Regions from separate parts of the Homo sapiens genome. Here regions 1 and 3 are each linked to region 2. The links are contacts of gene promoters, found by promoter capture Hi-C in human tissues and cell types (Jung and others, 2019). All regions are on one chromosome and are shown on one strand. The core of a region is centred on a gene start or on the middle of the fragment in contact, and the rest is flanking DNA. Distances in the headings are between cores, read along the strand shown. Region 1 overlaps PLS1 (plastin 1). Region 2 holds the start of PCOLCE2 (procollagen C-endopeptidase enhancer 2). Region 3 overlaps TRPC1 (transient receptor potential cation channel subfamily C member 1).

Region 1 (4,490 bases), core at 164-2,663, 200 kb after region 2:
TATCTCCTCATCCAGCTGAAATTTACACACTCTTTAAGAGCTTTACAAATATGGGTCTATCACATCAAAGCCAGTTACCATAATAAGGTAACACTGGTTTTCAATTTTAAAGAACATTGTGAATAAACACCAAGGAGCAGAAATTACAACATCATAAATCCTCAGTGAACCAGTGAACTTGGCCTGTTGTGACATTAATCTTCTTTAAGGAGTTAATCATAATCTTGTTTAAGGAGTTTCTTGGGTATATAAATTATTAATACATTTAGCTAATTAGAACTTTTTTCTAAAAAAAAATACAACTAGCTGAAGTTGGCTTATTTTGCACTTTATCAAGGCAGGCTGGTAGATTGTATAATAAAGAGAGAAGAATGGTTTCCTCTCATCCACACTTAGAAAGATGCATCGTTAGCCCAGGAGTTGATTTAGTAAAATATTTTCTTAGCCCTACTAATGTCAATAATGTGTTATCATTTTTTAAACAAGAAAGAATGAGATAAGCTATAACAATTATTCAAGGAAAACAAGTTACTTTTACAAATTAGAAAAAAATATACACAAAAATTATGGAATAATTAAGGTTTTGGCAAAAATAAATGAAAAATGACATAATAAAAATACTGATATAACAACAATTTATCAGTTATTACTGTTACTCTAATCTGTTAAAGTTGAAATTATTTTTACAATCAATAACTATAAAAAAGGATTATCTTTACTGATTTACGTATATCATCAAAAACATAACTATTATTCCTTTTTTGAATAGTAGCTTTCTTTTAAAATCCATTGTATTGCCAATTCCCAGCATCCTGAAACTCTAAAAATTGGCTAAAATTCTTGCAACTTGAGAAAATGTTCCATTTAAACATGCCTACAGTTTGAAACTTGAAAAGTTGGACCCTGACAGTAAAGCTGAAGCACAATAAAATATTTACCTGTACAAATGATTAATGTATGGGTTGACTCCCAAGGAATTCATCCAGTTCCGAAATGTTCTCTCTTCCTTGCTCTCTCCTAGAGTAGACACAAGCTCACACTGATGACTCAGGACAAAAGGAACCAGGAACTATATGTTAAACCATTCTAGCAGGTACAAACTGGTCAAACCTACCTTGCCATGGTTCTTTAGATACTACAGTTTCTTTAAAGGGAGAAAAAAAGTCTCTTAATGCCAAAGTCCCTTCTTTCCTACTATCTAGGAAGCCTCCATTTGCTCTAAATCTCTCCTTCTAGATTCCCTTTGATGTCTGTGAACTAGTACTGAGCCATGGGTTTCTCTACCTAGAAATAACAGATACACTTCTGTGGTCTATAATTATGATTAGATGCAAAAGGGATTCACTAAACATTAATAAAAACAAAATGTTTTCGCAGTCAGGGTAACATTAGCACATTAAACACAAATAGAAAAGTTATACCTTTCTCGGTGCAGTGTTTCTAAATTTGTACAAATTATGGTTTTACATAGGAAAGTTTCTCAGCACACAGACCTACACTTTACACCACACAATGAAGGGCAGAGGGGATTACAGGTAAATATAAAAACACACAATGAGGGGAATATAACTATTTTACAGGCTTCCTGAGTTAGTTTAGATTATCATTACTGAAAATACATAAGGAACACAGACCCAATACAGGTTGATAAGAGAAAGACAGATTTCATCATAGTAAGTTCCTGGACCTCAAAGATCCCCTCAAGGAGATAACTCCTTCAGGTGCTGTTATTTAACCATACCTCCCTGAGCATTCCCTTTGTAACAGTGCTTACATCATCTATAAGGAAAATGCGGGTCATAGTATACCACAAAGTGAGCAGGGATGTGGGCTGGCTCTGCCACTGTCTGCCTTCTAGTCATCTCCTGACTGCAAATAGTTCTAAGTAACTATCATGATTATTTGTTCTTCGGCAAAGTTATTAGACAGTGGAATGGCCTAGTTTACATCTTATCAGCAGACTCCTGAAAAACTGAAACATTTACACCTGTCATCACTTCTAAGTTATAGGCAAGTTCAAGTCACTCTCTAGATTTTGGCCCATGTGAGACTCACAGGACAATTTGGCACATAAATCTATAATCATCTGCGTTCCAGGGGCTCGTTCGTATAGAGCGATTGCAACAGTCATCTTCACATTGAGTGCCAAAGACAGTATAAACCTGCACACCCATGATAGGAACGCAAGCCTTGTCAGATCTAAAGGATTCTGTTATTTGTGCCAACTGTTCAGGAAATCATCTACCCACTGTAGTTTCATGTGATTTCAATGCCATTATCTAACAGCTTTCCCAGAATCTGCTTTAATTATTGCTCTATTATGTAGCCCTATAATTTCTTGCTTAAATTTTGTTCCCTCTGGTCTGCATAAAAGGTAACTGATCAGTCTGTTGTATCTGCTACCACCACTTTATAATAAACAGTCTACATGAGAATCTTTTTTTAAGAATAACCAAGCTAAACTAAATATTTCTAGAATCCATGCCAGCCTTATTTGTAGGAATTATTAAACAGGTACAAATTAAATCTATGAACTATCCCCAAAGTGACATAAATATAAACATACTATGATCAATAACTTGATGCCTTTGATTTGGATTTACCTCTCAGTTGTTTCTCTATCTATCATAAAGATATATATATATATGTTTCTAATAGTTACAGAAGTTTTACATTATTTCCATCTAGGAAAATCTAAATGTCTTAAAATTATGAAGATTAATAGTGCCATAATGGTTTAATTTTTAATTAAAATATCCAAATTCTGTTGAACCTAATGATGCAGTGAATAATATTTTAAAATAACTAAACTTGCATTTTGATTGAGTTCTGAAACTATCTTCGGGGGTTCATATTTCTTCCTATTGTTCTCAACTGATTATATAATTATTTTAATTTTTGATACCTGGAAAGTAAAATAGATTTTATAAATGAGCATTTATTTATCTAATAACATTTCAAAGTGTCTTGGTAAATAAATGCTCAAAGCTAGAGGCACTATGCATTTGTGCAACAGCCATGGTAAAGCATTACAAAGATATATGTGTTCCAGATTGGAAAATGTTGTCTGGATTATAGACAGCTAAAGCAATCTTAGAAGTAAAACCTTTTTTTCCCCCTAGATCTGATATACAATTTCAAGAAGTAAAATCTTAATTGCTGATATACAAGATTGAAAGAACTATAAAACATTCTTTTCATTTGCAGGCTCAATTTGACGTCTACAAATAATAAAAAATAGTAATAAAAATAACAAATATCTTAGAAGTAGGTTACTAAGAGGGAAAAGAGGAGTTAACATATATTTAACACTCAAATGTGCTGTGACATATGAAGTGCTTTCCTCCTCCCTCCCTGACCATTAATAAACACATACTGTATTCTTCCATTCATGATCACATTTAGCTTGCTCTGTAACTCTTCAAATTAAGTTTATTAGTCTTGTTTTATATATGAAAAAAACCAAGGCTCACAGAGGTCATTCAGATTAAATAGTGGAACTATGATTTGAACAAAGTCTGATAGTTTATGGCCTGTGTACCTTCTGTAATCATAAATGAATTCTGAGATGATCTTTCTGTACGTAGCCCACATATCTGGTTCAATTTGATGTGAGCGTTTAATATTTAATTGTGTTTTATTTAATTCCCTAGAGAGAAAATTCTCTGCCAATGAGGACATACTAACATATGAATTTGGGATGTGATATGATCAAGCTTCAAATTTCATAAGGATATATTAAAACACAAATTTACAGAGGAAAATAATCCAATGACAGTCAAAGTCAAATACATTTTTGGCAGATGTATGAGGACATACATAATAAAGATGACTGATAAATATTTCCCATGTTATCTTAATAGACAGTAAATAATAATGGAAATATTTAGCAATCCTATTCACACTGAAAAATTCCAAAAGCATGCTGAACACTAGCAAAAAGAATTCAAACATGAAAAATAAGAAAGCGAGCAAGTTGGAAAAGATACCTAGCAAGAATTCAGTGACTATAAAAAGCAGATCATTTTTAATATGCCACTCTAAACAATGCCTTCTACTGACAGAGGGATTTTGAAATTTTCCAGACTGATAAAACCTAACAGTGTTGCTTTTGCTTATTTTTTTTCAAGTTCTAATCTCTCACCCTAAATTTCTCTTCGCTGAAAAATCTACATTTTTTGTCTATTTTCCCTCTCAGTTACGTATCTACATAGAAAATATAATCTTTATTTTATTTTACGGGACCTTCAAGAAGAATGAATTACTCATATTCTTTGAAGAATATATTTGTTAAATCTGAAACGTCGTTCATTAATCACAAAACTGTAATTATGAGGTGACAAGGACACTGGAACTTTGGTTATGGCAGTCAAGCAGAAAAAGATCATGAAATTGATTTCTCATTCTGTCTCACTGGGAAAGAAGGGATAAGTGTGAGTTTTGTGAGAGAATGAACACTGAGATCATGAATACCGCACATCATACTCTCC
Region 2 (4,691 bases), core at 1,203-3,702:
GGAGGTAATTGAATCGTGGGAATGGTTTCCCCCATGCTGTTCTCCTGGTGGTGAGTGAATGCTCATGAGAGCTGATGGTTTTGTAAGGGGCTTTTCCCCTTCTCCTATCACCCTGTGAGGAGGTGCCTTCTGCCATGATTATAAGTTTCCTGAGGACTCCCCAGCCATGTGAAACTGTGAGTCAATTAAACTTCTTTTCTTTATAAATTACCCAGTCTCGGGTATTTCTTCATAGCGGCGTGAGAACAAACTAATAAAAGTCTCTCAATTTTAACACATCAACTTCTCAGGACATTTAAGGTTTATAATTTTGGTCAGAACTGTAGTTCCAAGTCAAATATGTGTTTTTAAGAGCCAATAATATGGGTTTTAGTAAATTCTAAAATCACATGGTAAAATCAATGTCTTATGAGTGTCAACAACAGAATGATTGGTGTTAAAATCCTAACTCTTTAGTGAGCATATGAACACAGTCATCAATCTATAAATTAAGAAATGGCTGTGTATTTTAGTTCAAATAGTTTCCTATTTAGGCACATTTAATACTTTGTTATTTATTTTAAATTTTGAAAACTTAGCTTAGTCCTGAATGAAGTATTTTCTGGTTTACGAGGACTGCAAATCATTACCAGAAAGTGAATTGAGCAATATTTCCCTTTATAATTTAAAACTATGACTTTCAAATAAACAATTATCTAAAAACACTTATGCTATTAGATAGCATATTCTTGAAATGCGTGCAAAATCAACAACCATTTATTCTCCTCTTCCCTGTTTTAAAGACATTTTTATTGGGTTGAGAGTGTTTCAGGATATAAAGCAGTTTGCCAAATTCTGTCACCCTTTTTTTTAATGTCATAAAGGGTGTGGTGCCTGTAGAGAAGTTTTGAAAGTTGTACTTTATGATGTTTTTGCCTTCACTTTTTAAAAAAATGGTAAGATAATCTAAGTCCTGTCCGTATATTCTGGTTCCTAGTATAGGCTTCAGGGTGCACTCACTATGAAAAGTCAGAATATTTCCTGTAGCCAGTTTTACTTACTTCCTTGCCAGGAGTGTTTAGGTTCTTTTTTTTTTTTTTTTCTTTTTTGAGATGGAGTCTCACTCTGTCGCCCGGGGCTGGAGTGCAATGGCGTGATCTCGGCTCACTGCAACCTCCGCCTCCCGGGTTCACGCGATACTTCTGCCTCAGCTTCCCGAGTACCCGGGATTACAGACGCACACCGCAACACCTGGCTAATTTTTTGTATTTTTAGTCGAGGCGGGGTTTCACCATCTTGGCCAGACTGGTTTCGAACTCCTGACCTCGTGATCCGCCCGCCTCGGCCTCCAAAAGTGCTGGGATTACAGGCGTGGGCCATCGCGCCCACCCGTGTTTAGATTCTTAACAGCTCATTATTAGAAATAAAGTCTCGATAAGAACTACTTTAATACTTAATTTTCTTGCTTAGAAAGGTGAAAACAATTTAGAAGGAACAACGTGAGGCATCAAAGTTAAGCTGTATCTCCCATAGCTGGTGATTATTAAAAATCTCTATGAATCTAGTCTGTTCCTGTCATTCTTTTATTAATCCCTGGTTATTGGGAAGCTCTTAACAAAATAAATGTTTAAAATTATATTTCTGTAATTAAGTAAAAGAGAGTATTGATTCCACAAGGCTAGAATTGTTCGTCTAAGAAAAACGAATTCTCCGTAAATTTTAACCCGTTAATACCACAGAAAGATGCTGTTGGAAAGGTCTAAGAACAGAGAGATGCAAGCAGAGAAACACCATTTTCAGAACATGACATGGGATGGTGAGATTTGCTGATTTGGTTCCGTCTTCATTATCTGACATTTAATGACAGTTCACACAGAAATCGCTCGCCTGAAAACCCGTGTTTAAATCCCGGCACAGAGACTGTCTTCCTTGTCATTGTCATACCAGTAAAAAAAAGAAAAGTATCTAGAGAGAGAGAGAGGAGAATAAGCACAGAAGTTAAAATACAATAAAATCCCTTTTCCCTTTCTTTCCTTGGATCTGGGTTTTGAAGGAGACAAAGAAGGACCCCCAGGCTTTCCAGCAGCCAGCAAGCGCTATTACTTTTTATTTAAAAGCAACTGGGAAAAACATTCCCCAAAGCAAAACCAGAAGCCCTCCCTGAGAATCGTCTCTGGGCGTCGGGGCCCGGGCCGCTGGGGTGCCACTCCGCAAGGGGTTCCTCTTCTCCCCGGGGTCCCTGAGGGCTGGACGAGAGAGGACCCGTCGGTCCCGGGGTGCCGGGAGGAGACGTTCGCCCGCCCCACGAGAGGGGGCGGCTCTGGCCTCGGAGCCGCCCCTCCTGCCGCCGGAGAACAAACGGGATATTCAGCAGTGGCCTGTGGCTGCCAGAGCAGCTCCTCAGGGGAAACTAAGCGTCGAGTCAGACGGCACCATAATCGCCTTTAAAAGTGCCTCCGCCCTGCCGGCCGCGTATCCCCCGGCTACCTGGGCCGCCCCGCGGCGGTGCGCGCGTGAGAGGGAGCGCGCGGGCAGCCGAGCGCCGGTGTGAGCCAGCGCTGCTGCCAGTGTGAGCGGCGGTGTGAGCGCGGTGGGTGCGGAGGGGCGTGTGTGCCGGCGCGCGCGCCGTGGGGTGCAAACCCCGAGCGTCTACGCTGCCATGAGGGGCGCGAACGCCTGGGCGCCACTCTGCCTGCTGCTGGCTGCCGCCACCCAGCTCTCGCGGCAGCAGTCCCCAGAGAGGTAACGCGACCCCTGCCCGGGCTCCCTTTCTCTCCTTTCCCTTCCTCCACCCCTGCAGCCTCGCCTGCTGCTTTACTCAACCCGCTTCGGCGCGCCTGGGTGACCCAGCGCTCGACCCTGCGCTCCCGCGCGGTGCAGGCGTCCGCCACCCTCGGGTAGGCTAAGCCCGGGACTTCGGGACCCATCCTTGCTCGCGGGGCTCCCTCCTGGGTCCCCAGCCCGGCCTGCCGGATGGCCCTGCAGCTGGCTTGGCCACCACGTGGCGGGGCTTAATCTGACTTGTGTCTCCCCTCTCCTCGTGTCTATGGGGCCAGAGGGAAGCACTGGGGCCCAAATATGTGGATTTTGGTTTACCGCTGTTTTTTTTCCTTCCCCGAGAGGCTTTGCCCAGAGACGTAAACTAGGGAACAACCCTAGCGGCGCGGCGCCTAGGGAGCCGCTCCGGAAAGTTAACTCTTCGCCAACCTCTGGAAGGCCCCAGGAGCTGGGCTGTGGGACCTGCCCGGTGGCCAACTTTGGCATCACCTCTTCAGCCTCCATCAACATCAGCCTCCCTTTCGATGGGAAGCTCTGCCAATGGCGAGTGATTTTCAGAAAGGGGGAGGAGAACTGGGCATCTCTCCAAATATGGGAACGACAAACTTTTTTTATATTAACCAATTGCTTGCCTGTCTTTCTTTAAAACCATGCTTCTCATTCAGCCTGGCTCTTACCTTCTCTCCCACTCCCCCAGTTAAATTGATGTATTTACCATTTTCCTACAAGACTTTGCCACAATGCCGAGGACTTGATTATACATATATATAATCTTGTGTTATTATGATGGAGACAGATGGCGCTGGACTGAATGCTTTGTCAGGCTATAATTTAAATATTCTAGGAGCTAGCAAATTTTCAGATCCCTTATATGGTGCAAGCATTGATTAATCAACATTAACTTTTATTTATATTAATAGGCTACACCTTTCTGAAGGTAACATCAGATTGTTAGACCATGTTTCAAATTACATTATCTTTTCTTCTTTTATGTTCCCAGACCTGTTTTCACATGTGGTGGCATTCTTACTGGAGAGTCTGGATTTATTGGCAGTGAAGGTTTTCCTGGAGTGTACCCTCCAAATAGCAAATGTACTTGGAAAATCACAGTAAGCATTTTTTAAAAAGGTATTCTCCTGGAAGTGGGTGTTGGCAACAGTGTGAGGCTGCTGCCTTTTTCCTCTGGTGTTAGGATTTGAGTAAGAGGCAAATGCCTGAAATAGTGAAATGTTGGATTTACCCCAACTATTGGGAAGATTTTTATTAATATAATAGATCTAGTCGTGTCCTGCATTAGTGATTACAAAGGGCACAAGATAATGCTTGAAGGAATAAATTCTCAGAGCAGATGTGTTTCTGAAAGCCCAGTGTGACTCAGTTGAGTTTTATAGATTCATAATTAAAGCTGTTTTCAGTCAAAGGCCTGTTGTAATGACCTTCATAAGTTTTTTGTTGCTCGTGCCTTCATAAATTCCCAGTGGGAAATGGAAGATCAAAGATAGTGCTTTGACTACTCTATGCTCATTAGGAAAGGAAAAAGAAAAAAAATAAAAAAAGCCCACTTAATGTTCCTGGGTTGAAACCACCTCTAAAGGCAGTCTAAGAATAGAGAATGGGGGGGTGGGAATCTAAATAGCAGCCAAGGGCCAATAAAAAGTCCATGCTGATTAGTAATAACATAGATTATGCTGAGTCAAGATAAGCTGGATTTAGAGACAGCCATATATTTTTTAACTGATTTAGAGTCAACTAGAGTGAGTCATCTTTCCAGTCAGCATAGCATTGACTGTTACCTTCTTCACTTTTTCGTTGTTGGGAAGTTGTTTAGTAATTGAATACGTTGGTTCACTGAGAGCTTCTTTCAGTCAGATTGTGCCACTGGAGGACTTAGATTTTTTAAAAAGTAGCCCCCACTGAATGTGTAAACTAGCAGT
Region 3 (4,262 bases), core at 172-2,671, 150 kb after region 2:
TGCTTTCTAAATTTTGTCTGATGTCTGGATTCCAAAAATTTAACTTTTTTAACAGCAAAAACTGTGCCACTGTGATTTCTGTCCATTGCTTTTATGCACATAAAGTCTTTCTACTCACGATCAGTTAAACATTCACCTACATTTTCTTCCAGTTTGTTGGTTTCATTGTTTACATTTAATTCTTATCTATCTGCAAACTAATCTATATTTTCAACATTACCTGCAGAATATTTCAAATGGTAAATACTGGTCCACAGTGACAAAATTATGGAAATATCAACTAAATTTAAAAAGTTTTCCTGAAAGAAATACTAATTATTCCTGCAAGTGTCCACTTTTAATATTTTACAGAGTGAGAAAAAATATCTATTTTTTGAAAAAACAAAATAAATTTGAGGGAAGGAAAAAATGGCAATGGGGCAAGAGATCTATTTTGGTTTAAAAATCCAAATTAATAAATATTTAAGAGTACTAACTACTATAGTTGGTCTTGATGATCGTTTTGGTCGATGATTAAGTAGTATATCAACAGCTCCCACTACTTCAGAGTCGATTGCCACCAAAAGTGCATCTGCAGACTTCAAAAAAAAAAAAAGTTAAAAATGAAAATGGAAGATAAAAAGGTAAACTACTTCTTTTTACTAATTCATAAATAAAACTTTTTAAAAATTTAAACTGTATTATATACAGTAATACAAAATTTTTCAAAAATTTTGACTGTACAAATAGTACATTTGCTTGCCTTAGGAGTACTTCTGTGTACCACAATACACACGTTTCTGTCCTGGTTTCAATGCATGAGTTGGTAAAATAATGAATGTCTCATTGAAGGGATTATTAGAGTAACAGTGCTGATCCATGCAGGATTTAAAGTTGAAAATTTTTTTTCAAGATCCTTACTCTTGAACTGTGGACCAAAAGAATCTTAACAATCCAAATCTATAAAAGAAACTGTCAAGAACTATTACTACAGGTAAAGGATTTTTTTCAGTCTAATGAAAATGATTATCATCAATGCAAACAGGAATATAGGGAGAATATCTAAAGGTGAGAGCCTTCTGTTCTCATTTTTAAAACACATGGCTGACTAAAATGCTACAAATTTGACATTTATGAGCAATTTTATCAAGTATAAGCCACAAATAGTTAGGCTACCAAAGTTCATGGAGACTGGAGGGAGAAGTGACTTTATCATTCTGCTCCCAGTCTATAGCTCACTGTGAAGATCCGAAAGAGGAAAAAGTAAGGAGACTCTGAGGAAATGGGGACTTTTCAACTCTGTAACAAAGCCTATAGTCCTACTGGCAACTATAACATCAGGTTTTTGGATTTTTAGGGAAAAATATAAAGGAAGAAGGAAAACATGGGGATAAATAATGATTTAATCTAAGAAAATGCCCTAATTATTTTCAATCTGTACATTTTAACTGCTATAATCATTAATAACTATTTAAATCAATGTTCTTGCTCTTGGAAACAAAACTATATCGATCTTTAATATTCTTTGTAGCTGAAAAGAGTAAAGTTTATATTCACTTTATCTGGATGTAAAAAATAGAACTAAAAGTGGCAGACTTTACCTGAATATCTAAAAATAGGACTATGCACCTCAAAAAAAAGGGTTGGAGTCCTCACTCAACCCTTAGGAATCACCTATGTTTTCCCACAGAAAAACTTCCCACCCAGATGGGAAATTTAACCCATTGCACTATCTCTTAAAACTTTCAGGGTTCATTGAGCTGTGGCCTATGCTTTAAAGTCCTAGCATTATTACTCTGCTTTGCAAACATTTCTCTTCAGATTTTAGCATATTTAATCAGTTGAAGGAAATGAACAAAAAGAATGCTATATCCATTACTATTAAATATTTCATTTATGATTTTTAATTTTTTTTTTTTTTGAGACAGAGTCTTGCTCTGTCACCCAGGCTGGAGTGCAGTGGCACAATCTTGGCTCACTGCAACCTCCGCCTCCCAGGTTCAAGGGATTCTCCTGCCTCAGCCTCCCGAGTAGCTGGGACTACAGGTGCATGCCACCATACCCGGCTAATTTTTGTATTTTTAGTAAAGACAGGGTTTCACCCTGTTGGCTGGGCTGGTCTCTAACTCCCAACCTCAAGAGATCCACCCACCTCGGCCTCTCAAAGTGCTGGGATTACAGGCGTGAGCCACTGCGCCCAGCCTATGATTTTTAATTTTAACCAATAAAGCTAACTATAGTAATGTCATTACTTTCAAAGTCAAACACCAGGGAACTTCAACAATCTGAAAAATAGCCATGGATTTAAAAACAGCAACATATTGAGCTGTCACAAAGAAACTCCATGGGTATTATTTCCCAAAAGAAACAGACCCAAGCATTCTGATTTAGAATTGTCCATAAATGATGAATATCTGGCTTTCCCAAGTATCCTTCAGATCTTTACTGAATAAAAGAATAGCAAGATTAAAACCAACAGCGTAGAGGGAAAGGAAGAAAGAATTACTAAAAGTTGACTACTGAAAAGATTAAATACCAGTACAGCAAAATCACTATCAATGCACAACAGTCTAAAGCCACTTAATGTAAGGACAAACATGTTAATAGTTTCAGACCATATGAAGCAAAGTAAAATAATTACATTCTCAATTATTCCAACTAAGGATGGTAAAGTTAAATTATATTCAGATACATTACTTAGTAAGGAATAAAGATTTACATTAAATCTTTCAATGCTTAAAAGGATAAGCTTCAGCTATAAAAATATTCATTTACATTAAAATTTCTTGTAAATAAGGAGTTACCATTTACTTATTCTGCACAAATGGTATGTTATTTGATAAATCAATGGCAGTTATGAGAGAAATAAATGTTTTAAATTATTTTAAAAATACATAGTTATACAAAAAATCCTCACTAGTTTTGCTTTCCAATTTCTCAGATATTTGACGATTCTTTATTAAAAGCTCTTCAATATATACTTATTACATATTTATGAGATCATTATCTTCCTTCCTACCTTAGAATTTATCTTTTCAACAATTCCCATACTCTTTCCTTTAAGCTCAGAGTAAAAAAGTTACGTATTTCCTTTCCAAAGCTACATTTTCCACCTTAGTATTCTATTTGATGCTCTCCAATCTTTAGAACCCTGGTCCTTCATTTGCAGAAATACCAGTCTAATCTCCCACCTCCCAGAACTTTAAATCCTTCATCACTCTTTGCTAACTTGCTTACTAGCTCTTTGCTAACTTGACTTAATTCCATCTTTCTCTTACCACTCGTTTTCTTCTTCCTTTCATTGTGTCAAACTTTGCAAATCAAAGTGTATCATTTCTCCAATTCTACTGATGCCAGTTTCCAAGTCCAATTACTTTTTCTACCTTCTAATTTTTCTTAATTTCTAAGCCAATATGTTAAAAACTATTCTTTTGGCTTTCACAATGTTGCATTATCCTAACTGCCTCTGATATCTTCAACAATTCATTTGGTCTTTAATGAAACTCTTTCCATGTAATGCTCTTTATTAAATGTAGATGTTTCCTTAAGAATGAATCTGCACCAGCCCTTTGCTCTTCTCCATGATTTCACCTACTCTCACAATGGTGATGGGCATTCCCATGGCCCTGACAGCTTACTGTATCTCTTTAGCCTGATCTCTCCCTAGAAATATAATGTTCATCTGTGTTTGTCTGATGAGGACTGCCTGATAGCTGCCAAATCAACAAGGATAAAACCAGAATTCACATTCCCTTGCCCCAAGCTTTACTTAGCTTCTGAACTTAATGTTTTCCTTTCTTCCTTCTCTTAGTCACCCACGTTTAAGATTTCCAAATCATCCTGGACTCCTTTTCAATTTCCCACTCCAAATCAAAATATTCACTAAGATTTGTCAATTCCTCACAGCGGTCTCCAACCTTTTTGGCACCAGGGACTGGTTTCATAGAGCAGGTAGGGAGATAGTTTCGGATGAAACTGTTCCACCTCAGATCATCAGGCATTGGTTAGATTCTCATAAGGAGCATGCAACCTAGATCCCTTGCATGTGCAGTTCACAATAGGGTTCGTACTCCTATGAGGATCTAATACCATCGCTGACCTGACAGGAGGCAGAGCTCAGGCAGTAATGATCGCTCACCTGCTGCTTACCTCCTGCTGTGCAGCCCAGTTCCTAACAGACCACGGAACCATATAGGCCATGGACTCATATCTGCCTTTTCCCCCTTCTTCTCATAGCCACTGTTTTTCTTACAGCACTGTTCCAGTTCAAGCCTCAACCTCTT

Evidence for each region. The method cuts DNA at HindIII sites, captures the fragments that hold promoters and counts their contacts. A contact is called where the count stands out against the background at its distance.
Region 1: a contact is called between a fragment that was not itself captured here and the fragment with the promoter of PCOLCE2 in region 2, in 1 of the 25 tissues and cell types used here (IMR-90 fibroblasts).
Region 3: a contact is called between a fragment that was not itself captured here and the fragment with the promoter of PCOLCE2 in region 2, in 2 of the 25 tissues and cell types used here (H1 embryonic stem cells and neural progenitor cells).

Annotation. Positions count from the first base shown.
Region 1 is chr3:142,690,996-142,695,485 of GRCh38, reverse strand. It overlaps PLS1 (plastin 1), which reads right to left. Exons shown (of 16, transcript NM_001145319.2): 11 at 939-1,017. Among named protein-coding and RNA genes, the nearest start is that of TRPC1, 31 kb to the left of the region's middle. The HindIII fragment of the contact is 5,635 bases long and covers 1-4,230 here.
Region 2 is chr3:142,886,844-142,891,534 of GRCh38, reverse strand. PCOLCE2 (procollagen C-endopeptidase enhancer 2) reads left to right here and starts at 2,452. Exons shown (of 9, transcript NM_013363.4): 1 at 2,452-2,721; 2 at 3,758-3,866. The coding sequence starts at 2,639. LOC124909443 (a long non-coding RNA gene) reads right to left here and starts at 3,271. Exons shown (of 2, transcript XR_007096122.1): 1 at 3,076-3,271; 2 at 768-1,944. RefSeq lists a silencer at 2,460-2,509. The HindIII fragment of the contact is 12,495 bases long and covers 1-4,691 here.
Region 3 is chr3:142,739,801-142,744,062 of GRCh38, reverse strand. TRPC1 (transient receptor potential cation channel subfamily C member 1) reads right to left here. Exons shown (of 13, transcript NM_001251845.2): 3 at 477-578. Among named protein-coding and RNA genes, the nearest start is that of TRPC1, 18 kb to the right of the region's middle. The HindIII fragment of the contact is 7,023 bases long and covers 1-4,262 here.